Regions from separate parts of the Homo sapiens genome. Here regions 2, 3 and 4 are each linked to region 1. The links are contacts of gene promoters, found by promoter capture Hi-C in human tissues and cell types (Jung and others, 2019). All regions are on one chromosome and are shown on one strand. Each heading gives the region's core, a stretch centred on a gene start or on the middle of the fragment in contact. The rest is flanking DNA. Distances are from core to core; before and after follow the strand shown.

Region 1 (3,410 bases), core at 137-2,636:
TCAGAATTATTTGCATTTGGCAAATCCTTAATTGATCTCTGGCCACTTGAATAGATTCTTCCAGGAAAAGACATACGACAGTTTTCATCCAATACCCTGGGTTTGGAGCATAACTTATTCTGGAGGCCAAAGAAAAACAAGCCAAGCAGTTTCTCTTCCTTTGGTTCAAAAACATTGAATAATCAGTCCTCATTAGTTTCAAAATCAGCCCTCCAGATTTTAAATGGAGAGAGCAAGTGGCTTAGGAAGGTTGTAGTTAGATCCCGCAGATGTACTCAACCCCTCTGCTCTGCAACTGACTCGGACTCTGTCCAGCAATCAGTCCCCAAGGACTGCCACAGAGAAAGTCCTAAAGGCAACCACGCTCCTCCCTCTCTTCTCTTGGCCATCTCCTGTGAGGAAAACCTCTGTCCTGGCTTGACTTCTGGACACCAGGATGCCTCCCTTCAGACAAACTAAAAAATAGCCTCACGGCACTTGCTGCAGAGGAGTGTGTGTTGTTTAGAAACTAATTTCTCACCTAATACAAATTATCTGTGTCAGATTCAGATTTAATAAGTACTATTTTTGTGTTGAGTAATGTACGTACTTTTTCTAATCCTTAAAACAACCCAACAAACGTAATATTAGAATTCCATTTTTTAAATTAGATGGCCCAAAGCAATTAAGTGACTTGTCAAAAGCTAAACAATTTATAAGCATGAGACTCAAAATTTGAACTCAAATTTGAGTTTATCTGATTTCTTTAACCAATCTTCTCTCTTATTTCCATCAAACTAATGAGGGGATCATCACCTTTCACTGATATTTTTATGGATAAAACATAAATCGCACAGAAATTAAGGGTTAATCTCCCATAAGAATCTGATGTATTAGTCACAAAATATAAAATGAGAGAACCAAGTCTTACCTGGAGGAAGAGATCAAAGATAGCCAGTTCCTTTCAATGTGCTCAGCAAGAGGATGGACCACACACCACAGACTGAAAGAGGAAACTGAGGTAAACTCCACAGCAATTTTGAACAATTTTGCCAGGTGGGGAGAGTGTGGGTGGACACAAGCAGAGGAGATTAGGGAAAAGAAAAGATGAAGGGCATGGTCTCACCCCTGAGCGATCTCTTCTCTTTCCTCTTTCTTCCTGGCCTCTTTTTTCTGGCAGTCAGCAGAGAATTGGCCACGCTGGCAAGGCCACTGACGTGCATCTCAGCTCCCAGGGCACAGAAAGAGCTGAAGCTTTTGAGCCATTTCTTTGCAATTTGCTGCAAGTTTAAGGCCACACGTGATAAAGCTTTCTTTATGGGAGAGAGTGAATAAAAGAAAAGACCACTTGTGATCTTACTTGCTGATTCCCAGAAAACACAACTCCGCAGGGGGCAGAGGGTAAGGAACAGAAGCCAGAGGAGGGCGGAAGTTTATAACAGAGACCCCTCCTCCTTCCAGAAAGTTTTTAAGCCAACTATTCCTTAGGGACATCACTGGGATCCTTGTGTTTTCTTTGTTTGTGTGTTTTGGTTTTGGTTTGTTTTGTTTTGTCTTTAACGGTTCTTGGGCTAATTTGCTACATGGTTTTCTTTTCCATTGGTGTTCTAGAATCTTTAAGGACCAAGTATCAGGTCACAATCAAAGCTCTGCAGCGCTCTGTACAAAAAGAGTTAATTCTCAGAGACATGATCAGTTGCTCATATTTACAATTTCTATGAGTTTTGAAAACAGAAAAGAAACACGTTGAATTTTTGGCATTCAATTGTTTATTCTGCCTAATTCCAAGGATAAATAAATCCTTGCACTGAGAAAGTCCACAATTCTAATACATTCTTTTTCCAAGAGAAAAACTTTAGAGGATCTTAAGCAGTAGTAGTTTGCATTTATTTTCTACCAATAAATAAATTTGCTACCAGAATTATCCAAGATTCACCCTACTCTTAAGTGGCTGAGACTCTGGGATGGTCACTTAATTTTACTGAGTCTCAACTTCTTCCTTTGTAAAGCAGAATTTTTTTGTTTAAAAAAAAAAAAAACAGATTTATAGGGCTGTTTTAAGGATTAAATTATATAATGTATTCAAAAGCACATTGCAAATGAGCGGAAGGTATCATCATTTTATATATATATATATTTAGTTCACATAATGGTCAGAATAGTTAATATTATTCAAGCACATTTTACTACAAAAGAAAGAAAAGAAAATGCAAGAAAAATGGGTTTATATTAAACCTTGCAATGAAGCAATGGTGTTTTCACACTCTGAAAGGCCAAATATTTTACTTTAACAATCAAACCAGACTTTTCCATCGGAAATAGTGAGCAAACATCCGAATACATTGAGTGTTAGTCTAGACTTCTCAGTGTCTAACAGGTGGCCAGACCACTGTTTTATTCAAGAGGAGACAGTATTTACCAGCCCAAAGGGCATAATTTTCCTCACCAAGAAATGAAATTCTCCCTTGAGAATGTAATTTTGTCTATTCCCAACTGGCTCAGTCTCACTCTCCAACACGATTCCTTTTCTTATTTCCAGAGTCCACAGTTAATGTTACTGTTTTGAATGCACATAATGTTTACACTTATTCAGAGCTTCTTATGTGCAACCTTGCATTGGATTGTAGCCTACTTCAGCCTTTCATTCCCATTTCCAAACTCTAGATGAGGGAGTTAACAAACTTCTATAAAGGGACAAATAAGAAATATTTTAGGTTTTGTAGGACCATGCAATCTCTATCACAACCACTCACCTCTGCCATTCTGGTGGTAAATTAACCACAGACAACATATAAATGAATGCATTTCCTAAGACTGCACTAACAAAGTACTACAAGCTGAGTGACCTAAAACAGAACTTTATTGTCTCACACTTTTGGAGGCCAGAAGTCAAAAATCAAGGTGTCAGCAGAGCCATGCTCCCTCTGAGACCTGTAGGGAAGAATCCTCCTTACCTCTTCCACCTCCTGGTGTTTGCTGACAGCCTGAACTCCTTGTTTTATAGGTGTATCACTCCAACAGCTGCTTCTGTTACCACATGGCCATCTTCTCCCTTTATGTCTCTGTCCTCTGTACTTAAAAAAACGCTAGTCATCTTTGGCTGGGGACCACCCTCATGACCTCATCTTAACTTGATAAGGTCTGCTAAGACTCTCTTTTCAGGAAAGGTGACATTCACAGGTACCGGGGGTTAGGACTTCCTCATATCTTTTTGGGAGACACAATTCAAGCCAGTACACTCATATTTTCATTTTCCTCCTTACTTGAATTTTTTCATGCAATTATTTTAATCACTTCCTTCTGTATACCCTCAATTCTCCTGTTTCTCTTTCAATTTATTGATCTTCCCAGGCAAAGCTCACCTCAGATAAATCCACTTTCTTTCTTCTTAGTATTTGCATCCGCACTGTTTTAAGTGATTGAAGAACAAC
Region 2 (3,454 bases), core at 829-3,328, 300 kb before region 1:
CATTCTGCAGCACCAGCCTGGAGTATGAGAGCTCCACTGGGTGGCTAGACCCAGAGGAGTTACAGCATTCACCATAGTCTGTCTCTCAAGCACTCCTCCTAGGGGAGGGGAAGTGCACCACATCAAGGGAACACCCCGTGGGACAAAAGAACCCAGACAGCAGGCCTTGAGTCCCAGATCTTTCAACTGTTGGGAAGTTTCTTTCAGCAGCAGAACATTTGCAGTGCAGGGCTCGGCAGAGAAAGTCTGCAGCTCTAACCCAACAGTCAGGGAGTCCTGGTACTTGTGAAGAATCTTGGAGAAGGGACTTCTTTTGCCTCTCATCCACTACTGCAGATATAGCTAGGGCTGTTAACACAGGAGCTTGGTATGGATACACCTATAGACAGCCTTTGTGGAACACTTCAGGGTGATTGCATCCCCACAGGAGGAACACCTCCAGGCACAGGTTTGCACAAGAGGTAGAGTCACAATTCTTCTCTATGTAGAACATCAACATTCTTGCAGATGAGAAGAGGTACCTGTCTGATATAAATAGCCATAACATTGGGTCAAGGGTGTGTCTGGAATGGGAATAGCTTTCCTGTAGACCTGAGAGAGCTGCTGAGGTGGATATGGTCCTTCTCTCTGTTAAGACCTCAGTGAATTTCACTGAGATCACCCTCATCCACCTTTGTCAAGAATAGGACCTCTGCCCACCATCGGGTATCGCAATTACCCACCCAATTTAGCCACAGCTGGTTTTTAAACATGGACACCTCCCACACTGGACTAAAGCCTGAACTATTTAACCCAGTAACTAAAATACATAGGAAAAAATAAACAAAAAAGTACACACCAGAGTGGAATGAGATAAGCTTCAAGAGACCTCTGTCATTCCGACTCTATAGGAGATTGTGAACTTGCTTACACACTGGGCACATTGCTACTACAACTAGCATCAGAGAAAGCCATCATACAAAGACTCTCTATAACCAAGGAATTCATACAGAGTTTTTACCCATTAAAGTACAAAGAGCCAAATTAAGCCACAGTAAACTACAAACATTAAAGTCACATACTTGGAGGGGGGAAAGAAATTTAAAAAAAAAAGTCAAATTAAAAATGAATTTAAGAATAATTAGGCCGGGTGCAGTGGCTCACACCTGTAGTCCCAGCACTTTGGGAGGCCAAGGCGGGTGGATCATGAGGTCAGGAGATCGAAACCATCCCGGCCAACATGGTGAAACCCCGCCTCCGCTGAAAATAGAAAAATTAGCTGGGCGTGGTGGCGAGCACCTATAATCCCAGCTACTTGGGAGACTGAGGTAGGAGAATCGCTTGAACCCAGGAGGCGGAGGTTGCAGTGAACCGACATCGTGCCACTGCACTTTAGCCTGGTGACAGAGCAAAACTCCGGAAAAAAAACAAAAAGAATAATTAGAAGAAATACTCTACCCAAATGAGAGAAAAACAAACCGAAAGACGATTTTGTTAATATGACAAAATAGGGTTCTGTAACACCCCAAAAGATTATACTAGCACTCCAGCAATTGATCCAAACCGAGATGAAATCTTTGGAATACAAAATAAAGAATTTAATAGGTTGGTTATAAAGCTACTCAAAGAGATACTTGAAAAAGGTGAAAACCTACATTAAGAAATGAAAAAAAAAATTCAGGATATGAAGGAAACATTTTATAAAGTGACAGATATCTTAAAGATAAACCAATCAGAACTTTTGGAAATGAAAGACAAATTTAGAAATTACAAAATGCAGTGAAAAGTTTCCACAATAGACTAGAACACGTAGAAGAAAAAAAAAATCAAAGCTCAAAGACTAGGCTTTTAAATTTACCCAAACAGACAAAAATAAAGGAAAAGAATAAAAATAAATGAAGTTTTCAAGATCTATGGGATTATGGAAAAGAGCCAAACCTAAGAATAATTGGTGTTCCTGAGGGAGAAAACAAAAAAGTCTTGGAAGCATATTTCAGGGAATAATTGAGGAAAACTTCCCTGGCCTCGCAATAAATTTAGATATTCAAATATGAGAAGCTCAAACAATTCCCGGAGATTCACTGCAAAAAGGTCATCACCAAGGTATGTAGTCATCAGGCTACATAAAGTCTGTATGAAAAAAGACTTCTGAGAGCTCTAAGTCAAAAGCATTAGGTAACCTATAAAGGAAAACCTATAAGACTAACAGCAGACTTCTCAGCACAAACCTTACTAGCCAGAATGGATGAGAGTCCTATCTTCAGGCTCCTTACACAGAATAACTGTCAGGCAGAAATTTTGTATCTGGTAAAACTAAGTTATATAAATGAAGGAGAAATAAAGTCATTTTTAGACAAACAAATGATGAGGGAATTTGTTGCTACCAGACCAGCCTTACAAAAAATTCTGAAAAGGGTTTTAAATCTTGAAACAAAAGCTTGATATGCACCAAAACAGAATTTGAAAGCATAAAACTCAAAGGGCCTCTAAAAGAATTACACAATTTAAGAAAAGTATCCAAGTAACAATTCAAATGATGAGCGGGAAAATACCTTACATCTAAATTTTAATGTTGAATGTAAGTGTCCAAAATGCTTCACTTAAGAGATACTGATCAACAGAATGTATAAAGAATCACAAACCAAATATCAACTTTCTTCACATGACTCACATAATACATAAGGATTCATAAAACTCAAGGTAAAGGGGTGAAAAAAGATATTTCATGGAAATGGAAATCAAAAGTCAGCAGAAGTAGCTATTCTTATATCAAATAAATCAGACTTTAAAGCAACAGCAGTAAAAAAGAAAGACATAGAAGATTATTATATAATGAAAGAAGGATCAATCCAACAAGAAGATATTAAATTTATATGCACCAAACAATGGAGCACCTAGATTCATAAAACAATTACTACTGGACCTAAGAAATGAGATAGACAGCAACACAATAATAGTGGATGGCTTGAAAACATCACTGACAGCACTAGACAGATTATCTAGCCAGAAAAGCAATAAAAAATGGACTTAAACTACATTCTAGAACAAATGAACCTAACAGATACACATGAATCTTACAAAACATTTTGTCCAAGAACTGCGGAATAACATTCTTGTCATCAGCACTTGGAACATTTTCCAACATAGATAATACAGTAAGACAGAAAACAAGCCTCAATAAATATTTGGAAACTCAAAATCATATCAAATATTTTCTCAGACCACAGTGGAATAAAACTAGAAATGAACTCCATAAGGAATCCCCCAAATTATACAAATACATGAAAATTAGACAATATGCTCTGGAATAATTTTTGGGTTAACAATGAAATCAAGATGGAAATTAAACTTCTTTGAAATAAACGATAATACGTCAGTTATTACATAAACGATGATATGTCAGATAATACAAGTTATCAAAACCCCATGGATACAGCAAAAGGAACTCTAACAGAAAAGCTTATAATACTACATT
Region 3 (3,101 bases), core at 170-2,669, 470 kb before region 1:
ACAAGTATACAGTGACATAGCTTATTGTTTAATTTACAATTCCCTAATGACGGGATGTGGAGCATTTTTCCACATGCTCATTTGTTGTCTCTATATCTTCTTCAGTGAGGCATCTGTTCAGATATCATCCTCATTTTATCATTGGGTTATTTTTCTAATTATTGAGTTTTAGATGTTCTTTGCATACTTTTGAATATCAGTTCTTTATTGGATATATCATTTCAATGTCTTCTGGTCTCTGATGAGAAATCAGTTGTTAATCTTATTAAGGAACTCTTGCCCATGATTATTTCCTACTCTTGTTGCTGTCAAGATTCTGAATTTATTTTTATTTTTTTGGCCTTTGACAGTTTGATCATAATGTGCCTCAAAGTGGATCTCTGAGTTTATTTGGATTTTCTTATGCTTCTACGATATTGAGATCATATATTTTATCAAATTTGGGACGTTCTCGGCCACTTTTTTTTCAAATATTATTTCTTCCCTTTTCTCTGTCTCTTCTCTTTCTAGAACTACTGTAATTGTTATGCTGGTTCACCTGATAGTGTCCCACAGTTCCGTATGTTTTGTTAATTTTTCTTCGTTTTTTTTTTCTTTCTGCTTCTCAGACTAATCATTTCAATTGTCTTATCTTCAAGTTTGCGGATTCTGTGTTCTAACTGCTCAAATTTGCTGTTGAACTTTTGTCTAAGTCAGTTCAGACTGCTATCACAAATTATGATGGAACGGATGGCTTAAACAACAAACATTTATTTCTCACAGTTCTGAAGGGTGAGAAGTCTGAGATAAGGGTGCCAGCATGGTCAATTTCTGGTGAGGGCCCTCTCCTAGGCTGCAAACAGCTAACTTCTCTTTGTATTCTCACATGGAGGAAAAAAATCTAGTGAGCTCTCCAGCATTTTCTTGTAAGGCACTACTCACATTATAAGAGCAAATTTCTCATGATCTCTTTAGCTCCCAAAGACTCCCAAATACTATCACATTGGATTTTGAAATTCAATACACAATTTTGGGGAGAGGGGAACAAATATTTAGTCCATAACAACTTCTTGTAAATTTTTATTTTGTTTATTGTATTTTTTTATCCCTTTGACCTTTCACTTGCCTTGTTCTAAGCTTGGGGATTAGCATTAGGTAAAAGGATACAATCTTCTCAGACGTTTTATGAGCATATGTCTTGCCTTGGACATATGTGTGGCTCCCTAAATACCTCTGTGTACATGCAGTGCTAGCTACATAATAACCTTGATAAATGTCTATTTTCATCCTCAGTTTGAGCTACCGTCTCCAGCTATATGTTCTAAATTTATTTAAATAAAAACCAGAGATATAAATGTGCACAATCATCAAATAAAATGTGCATTGGCAGAAAGAGACAACTGACATTGAGATAAGAAATAAAGTCTCTACTTGCCTGCAATCATGGCAGATCGGTCATTAATTTATTATGGCAATAGTTCTAAACTTAAAGTCAGAAGACAGTTCCAAGCTTCTAATTTGTCAAACGCACAACTTGGATTAGCTTTGGAACTCAACTGATTTACTCAAGAAACATTCATTGAGCAACTGTAATATAGCAGTTAGTCTGCTAAGCTATGTAGTTGAGGCAGGTACAGAGGAACAGGAACAAGGGCAGTAAAAACAAATAAGACATAATCAATGCACTGAAAATTATAATCTTCAGCAGCAATAAACCAATAATGACAGTATAATATGTATTGAGTTTTATAATTGCCATAAGTTTGTAATGTTATGTGCAGATAGGAAAAAGGGACTATTCTGACCTTACAGGTTAAAGTTCTTAAAGATGTGTTGACATTGGGGCTAAGTCTTCAGTTGATTATAGAAGCTTAGATATTGAAGACACAAAATACTTAAAACAAAATAGGAAGCACATGAAAAGCCCCTAAGAAGTGAAATAACACGGATTATTTGAAAAACAGAAATATTATTTGTGTAGGTGAAGTGTAAGGATAGAAATATGTTCAACATTGAGGAGTCAATATGCACTTTAAAATGTTACATAACAAAATTAAATTTTAGATGGTTAATTCTGGCAGCCATGAAGAAGAAGAACTTAGGAAAAAGAGATCTGTTAGAAAGCTGACTTCAGAAAATAAAAAAGAGTAGAGATGAAAAGTGTATAACAAGCTTACAGACACACAAGGAGAAGTTTAAGAGGAGAACCAACAGGAGGTGGGGAAAATAGAAAATGTAAATTCTGATTTTGTTTTCTAGTTCGGATAACTGTATGTTTGTTTTATAGTTTCTGGTTTGAATAACTGTCATTTGGTGGGAAAAAGAAGACAGCATTAAAGACAATATAATCATCTTTTCACAAGTCGAATTTGACATGCCTAAAAATAAACAAGTACCCAGTAGACACAACTAAGGCAGGCCTGTTGCATAAGAGATTTGCCTGGATGCAGTTTTGAAATTTACTAAGGAATGATTGTACAATTCATCCATATTAATTTATTTTATTAGAAAAAATGGATCTGCCTCCACCAAATGCTTTCTTTTCCATAACTCTGTCTCTCATGTCTTTTCCAGTAAAAATTTAAAGAGTTTGCCTGCATGACTCAAATCCTATTTTTTGCATAATTCCTCCCAAGTATCCTTAGATCATGTTATTCTGGCTGTTACATTTTTTTTTTTTCAGTGATTTGTTTCATACCGTCTTCTCTTTTTACTCTACATACTCTTGCTGGGCAAACCCATTCATTGTCTTTGCTTCGATTACCATCTGTCATAGAATGAATGTTTGTGTCCCTCTCAAATGCGCATGTCAAATCCTAACCCAATGTGATGGTATCAGGAGGTGAAGCTTTTGGGGGGTGATTAGATAATGGCTGTGGAACCCTCATGAATGAGATTTGTACCCTTTTAAGAAGAGAACTCACTTCCATTCTCTTTCTCTTTTAGCCATGTCAGGAAAGCAAGAAGAGAACTGTCACCAGAAGCTAACCATACTGGCACCCTGATCTTGGTCTCCCAGCCTACTGAACTGTGAGAAATAAATGTTTGTTGTTTAAGCTACCCAGTCTGTGGTATTTTTGTCATAGCAGCCTGAATTGACTAAGACACCAAGAAGACAGAGT
Region 4 (3,148 bases), core at 242-2,741, 490 kb before region 1:
TTACTACAATTACAGGAGGTGCTATGAAATTATTACAGCAGTAACGTATATATTACAGTCAATTGTATAAAGTTATGCTTTAATAGTACATCTTCACATTTGTTTTCACTTCTCTTGACTGTAGATGAGATAATATGAGGTACATATGTGTTTCTGTGCTTAAATTTGAAGTTTAACTTTAAAAAAGCGAACTTTTATGTTAGAATAAAATTAGAATTAGTAGAATTTGGCTGAGAATCCATCTGGTCCAGGGCTTTTTTTTTGGTCAGTAGGTTTTTTATTACTAATTCAATTTGATAACTTGTTATCGGTCTGTTCAGGTTTTCACTTTTTTTCTGGTTTAATCTTTGGAGGTTGTTTCCAAGAATGACTCTACTTCCTCTAGATTTTCTAATTTGTGTGCAGAGGGGCATTTGTAATGCATTTCTATGGGAGTTGTAATGTGATCTTTGTCATTTCCGATTGTGCTTAATTGGGTCTCCTTTTTTTCCTTGTTAATCTAGTTAACAGTCTATTAATCTTTTTGTATTCTTTTGAATAACAAACTCTTGGTTTTATTTATCTTTTGTATACATTTTGCATCACAATTTCATTCTGATTTTCGTTATTTATTTTCAGTTTGCTTTGGGGTTGTCCTTTTTTTTTCTAGTTAGTGTAAGTGCAATGTTAAATTGTTAATTTGAAATCTCTCTGCCTTCTTGATGAAGGCCTTTAGCATTGTAAACTTCCTCTTAACACTGCTTTAGATAGATCCCAAAGATTTTAGTGAGGTGTGTCTCTATTTTATTTAATGTCAAAAACGGTTTTACTTTCATTCTTAAACCAAGAATTATTCAGGAAAAGTTGTTGAATTACCATACTTTTGGGTGGTTTTAAGAAATCTTTTTGGTATTGATTTCTATTTTTATTGCACTTTTGTTCAAGAATGTACTCAAAATCTTTTAATTTTTTGAATGTATTGAGACTTTATGACTGAGCATATGATTGATTTTAGAATACAATCTATATGCAGATGAGAAGAAAGCATATTCTGATAGTGCTGGGTGGAGTATTCTGTAGGATGTTTTTGGATCCAGTTGGTTGAGAGTTGAGTTTAAGTCCAAAATTTACATTTTAATTTTCTGCTTCGATATCTAACACTGTCAGTGAGTTGTTGAAGTCTTCCACTATCATGGTGTGGCTGTCTGTTTTTAGTTTCCTTAGGTCTCTAAGAATCTTTTTTGTAAATCTGGGTCCTCCACTTTTGACTGCATATATATTTAGAATAGTTAAGTCTTCTCGTTTAATGGAACACTTTATCCTTATGTAATACCCTTCTTTGTCCTTCTTGATGGTTTTTGGTTTAATGTCTGTTTTATCTGATATAAGAATAGTGATTACTGCCCTGTTTTGTTTTCTGTTTGCATGGATAGATCTCTTTCCGTTCCTTTACTTTGATCCTGTGGGTATTGTACATGTAAGATGTGTCTTTTAAAGACAACAGAAGGCTAAGTTTTGTCTACTTATGAAGCTTGTCACTCAGTGTCTTTTACTTGGGGCATTTAGCCTGTTTACATTCAGGGTTATTATTGATACGTGAGATTTTGATCATGGCATCATGTTGTTAGCTGGTTGTTTCATAGACTTGGTTGTATAGTTGCTTTATGTGTCTGGGCTACCTATTTAAGTGAGTATTTGTTGTGGCAAGTATTAATCTTTTGTTTCCATGTTTAGCACTCTTCTAGAGACCTGTTATAAGGCTGGTTTAGTGATAAGAAATTTCCTCAATGTTTGCTTGTATGAGAAGGAGTTTAGTTCTCTTTCACTTACAAAATTAATTTGGTGGGATATTAAATTTTTGGTTGAAATTTCTTTTCTTTAAGGGTGCTGAAAATAGGTCCCCAATCTCTTCTGGCTTGTATGGTTTTTGCTCAAAGGTGTTCTGCAAGATTGATGGGGTTCCCCTTGACAGTGACTTGATCCATCTCTCTAGCTGCCCCCCAAAAAAATCTTAAAATATTTATTTCTTTCATGTGGACTTTGGGGAATCTAATGAGTAGATGCCTTGGGGATTGTCATCTTTATAGCATCTCAAAGGGGTTCTCTGTAATTTAGGAATTTGCATATCAATCTCTCTAGCAAGTTTGAGGATATTTTCATGGACTATATCTGCAAATACGTTTTACAAGTTGTTTACTCTCTCTTTTTCTCTCTCAGGAATTCCAATGAATCATAGGCTTGGTTTCTTTACAGAAGGAAACCAAATTCCTAGAAGTTTTCTTCATTTTTATGTTTTTTTTTCTTTCTTTCTTTTTGTCTGATGGAGTGGATTATAAAAACTGGTTTTTAAGCTCTGAGATTCTTTTCTCTCTTTGGTATGTTCTGTTGCTAAAGGTCTGGATGTATTATCAAATCCATGTAGTATTTTTTTTAATTCCAGAAGTAGTGTTTTTTTAATGGCTATTATGTCTTTCAGCTTTTGGATCATTCTACTGGAATTATTGAATTCCTTAAATTGTGTTTCAGCACTTTCCTGAATCTCAATGAGCTTTCTTGCCATCCAGATTCCGAATTGCCTGTCTGTCATTTTAGTCATTCCAATGTGGTTAAGAACCATCGCTGGAGAGCTCAAATGCACCCATTTGAAGGTTAAGGTACATTCTTACTTTTTGAATTGCCAGATTTCTTGTTGATTCTTTTTCATCTTGAAGGAATGGTGTTCCTTTAACTGTGGTATAAGTTGAGTATGGTCAGTTGGTTTAATTTCTGGGATAAGACTCTGCACAATATTTTTATTTATAGCTAGATTCTTGCTCTCAGTTTCATATGCAATGTATACTGACAAACTATTTTTGAAGTCAGGCACAGTGGCTCAAGCCTGTAATTCCAGCACTTTGCCAGGCTAAGGTGGGAGGATCACTTGAGGCCAGAAGTTTGAGATCAGCCTGGGCAACATGGAAAACCCTGTCTTTACAGAAAATAACACATATTAGCCAAGTGTAGTGGTGTGTGCCTGTAGTCCCAGCTACTCAGAAGGCTGAGGTGGGAGAATGGCTTGAGCCTAGGAGCTTGAGGCTGCAGTGAGCTACGATTGCTTCTCTGCGCTCTAGCCTGGGTAACAGAGTGAGGTACAGTCTCAAATATATAGGCAGATGTTTTAAATTGAGCT

What was found. Contacts are between HindIII fragments. The study calls those that stand out against the background at their distance.
Region 2: a contact is called between a fragment that was not itself captured here and the fragment with the promoter of SLCO1C1 in region 1, in 1 of the 25 tissues and cell types used here (spleen).
Region 3: a fragment that was not itself captured here is called in contact with the fragment with the promoter of SLCO1C1 in region 1 in 2 of the 25 tissues and cell types used here (aorta and mesenchymal stem cells).
Region 4: a fragment that was not itself captured here is called in contact with the fragment with the promoter of SLCO1C1 in region 1 in 2 of the 25 tissues and cell types used here (H1 embryonic stem cells and mesenchymal stem cells).

What each region holds. Positions count from the first base shown.
Region 1 is chr12:20,693,308-20,696,717 of GRCh38, reverse strand. It overlaps SLCO1C1 (solute carrier organic anion transporter family member 1C1), which reads right to left and starts at 1,386. Exons shown (of 15, transcript NM_017435.5): 1 at 911-1,386. The HindIII fragment of the contact is 14,433 bases long and covers 1-3,410 here.
Region 2 is chr12:20,998,611-21,002,064 of GRCh38, reverse strand. The region is part of intron 13 of SLCO1B3-SLCO1B7 (SLCO1B3-SLCO1B7 readthrough); the gene reads right to left. The region is part of intron 1 of LOC124902894 (putative solute carrier organic anion transporter family member 1B7); the gene reads right to left. Among named protein-coding and RNA genes, the nearest start is that of SLCO1B1, 130 kb to the left of the region's middle. The HindIII fragment of the contact is 4,104 bases long and covers 27-3,454 here.
Region 3 is chr12:21,163,501-21,166,601 of GRCh38, reverse strand. All of the region lies in intron 2 of SLCO1B1 (solute carrier organic anion transporter family member 1B1), which reads right to left. Among named protein-coding and RNA genes, the nearest start is that of SLCO1B1, 34 kb to the right of the region's middle. The HindIII fragment of the contact is 4,086 bases long and covers 1-3,101 here.
Region 4 is chr12:21,183,183-21,186,330 of GRCh38, reverse strand. All of the region lies in intron 7 of SLCO1B1 (solute carrier organic anion transporter family member 1B1), which reads right to left. Among named protein-coding and RNA genes, the nearest start is that of SLCO1B1, 54 kb to the right of the region's middle. The HindIII fragment of the contact is 6,857 bases long and covers 1-3,148 here.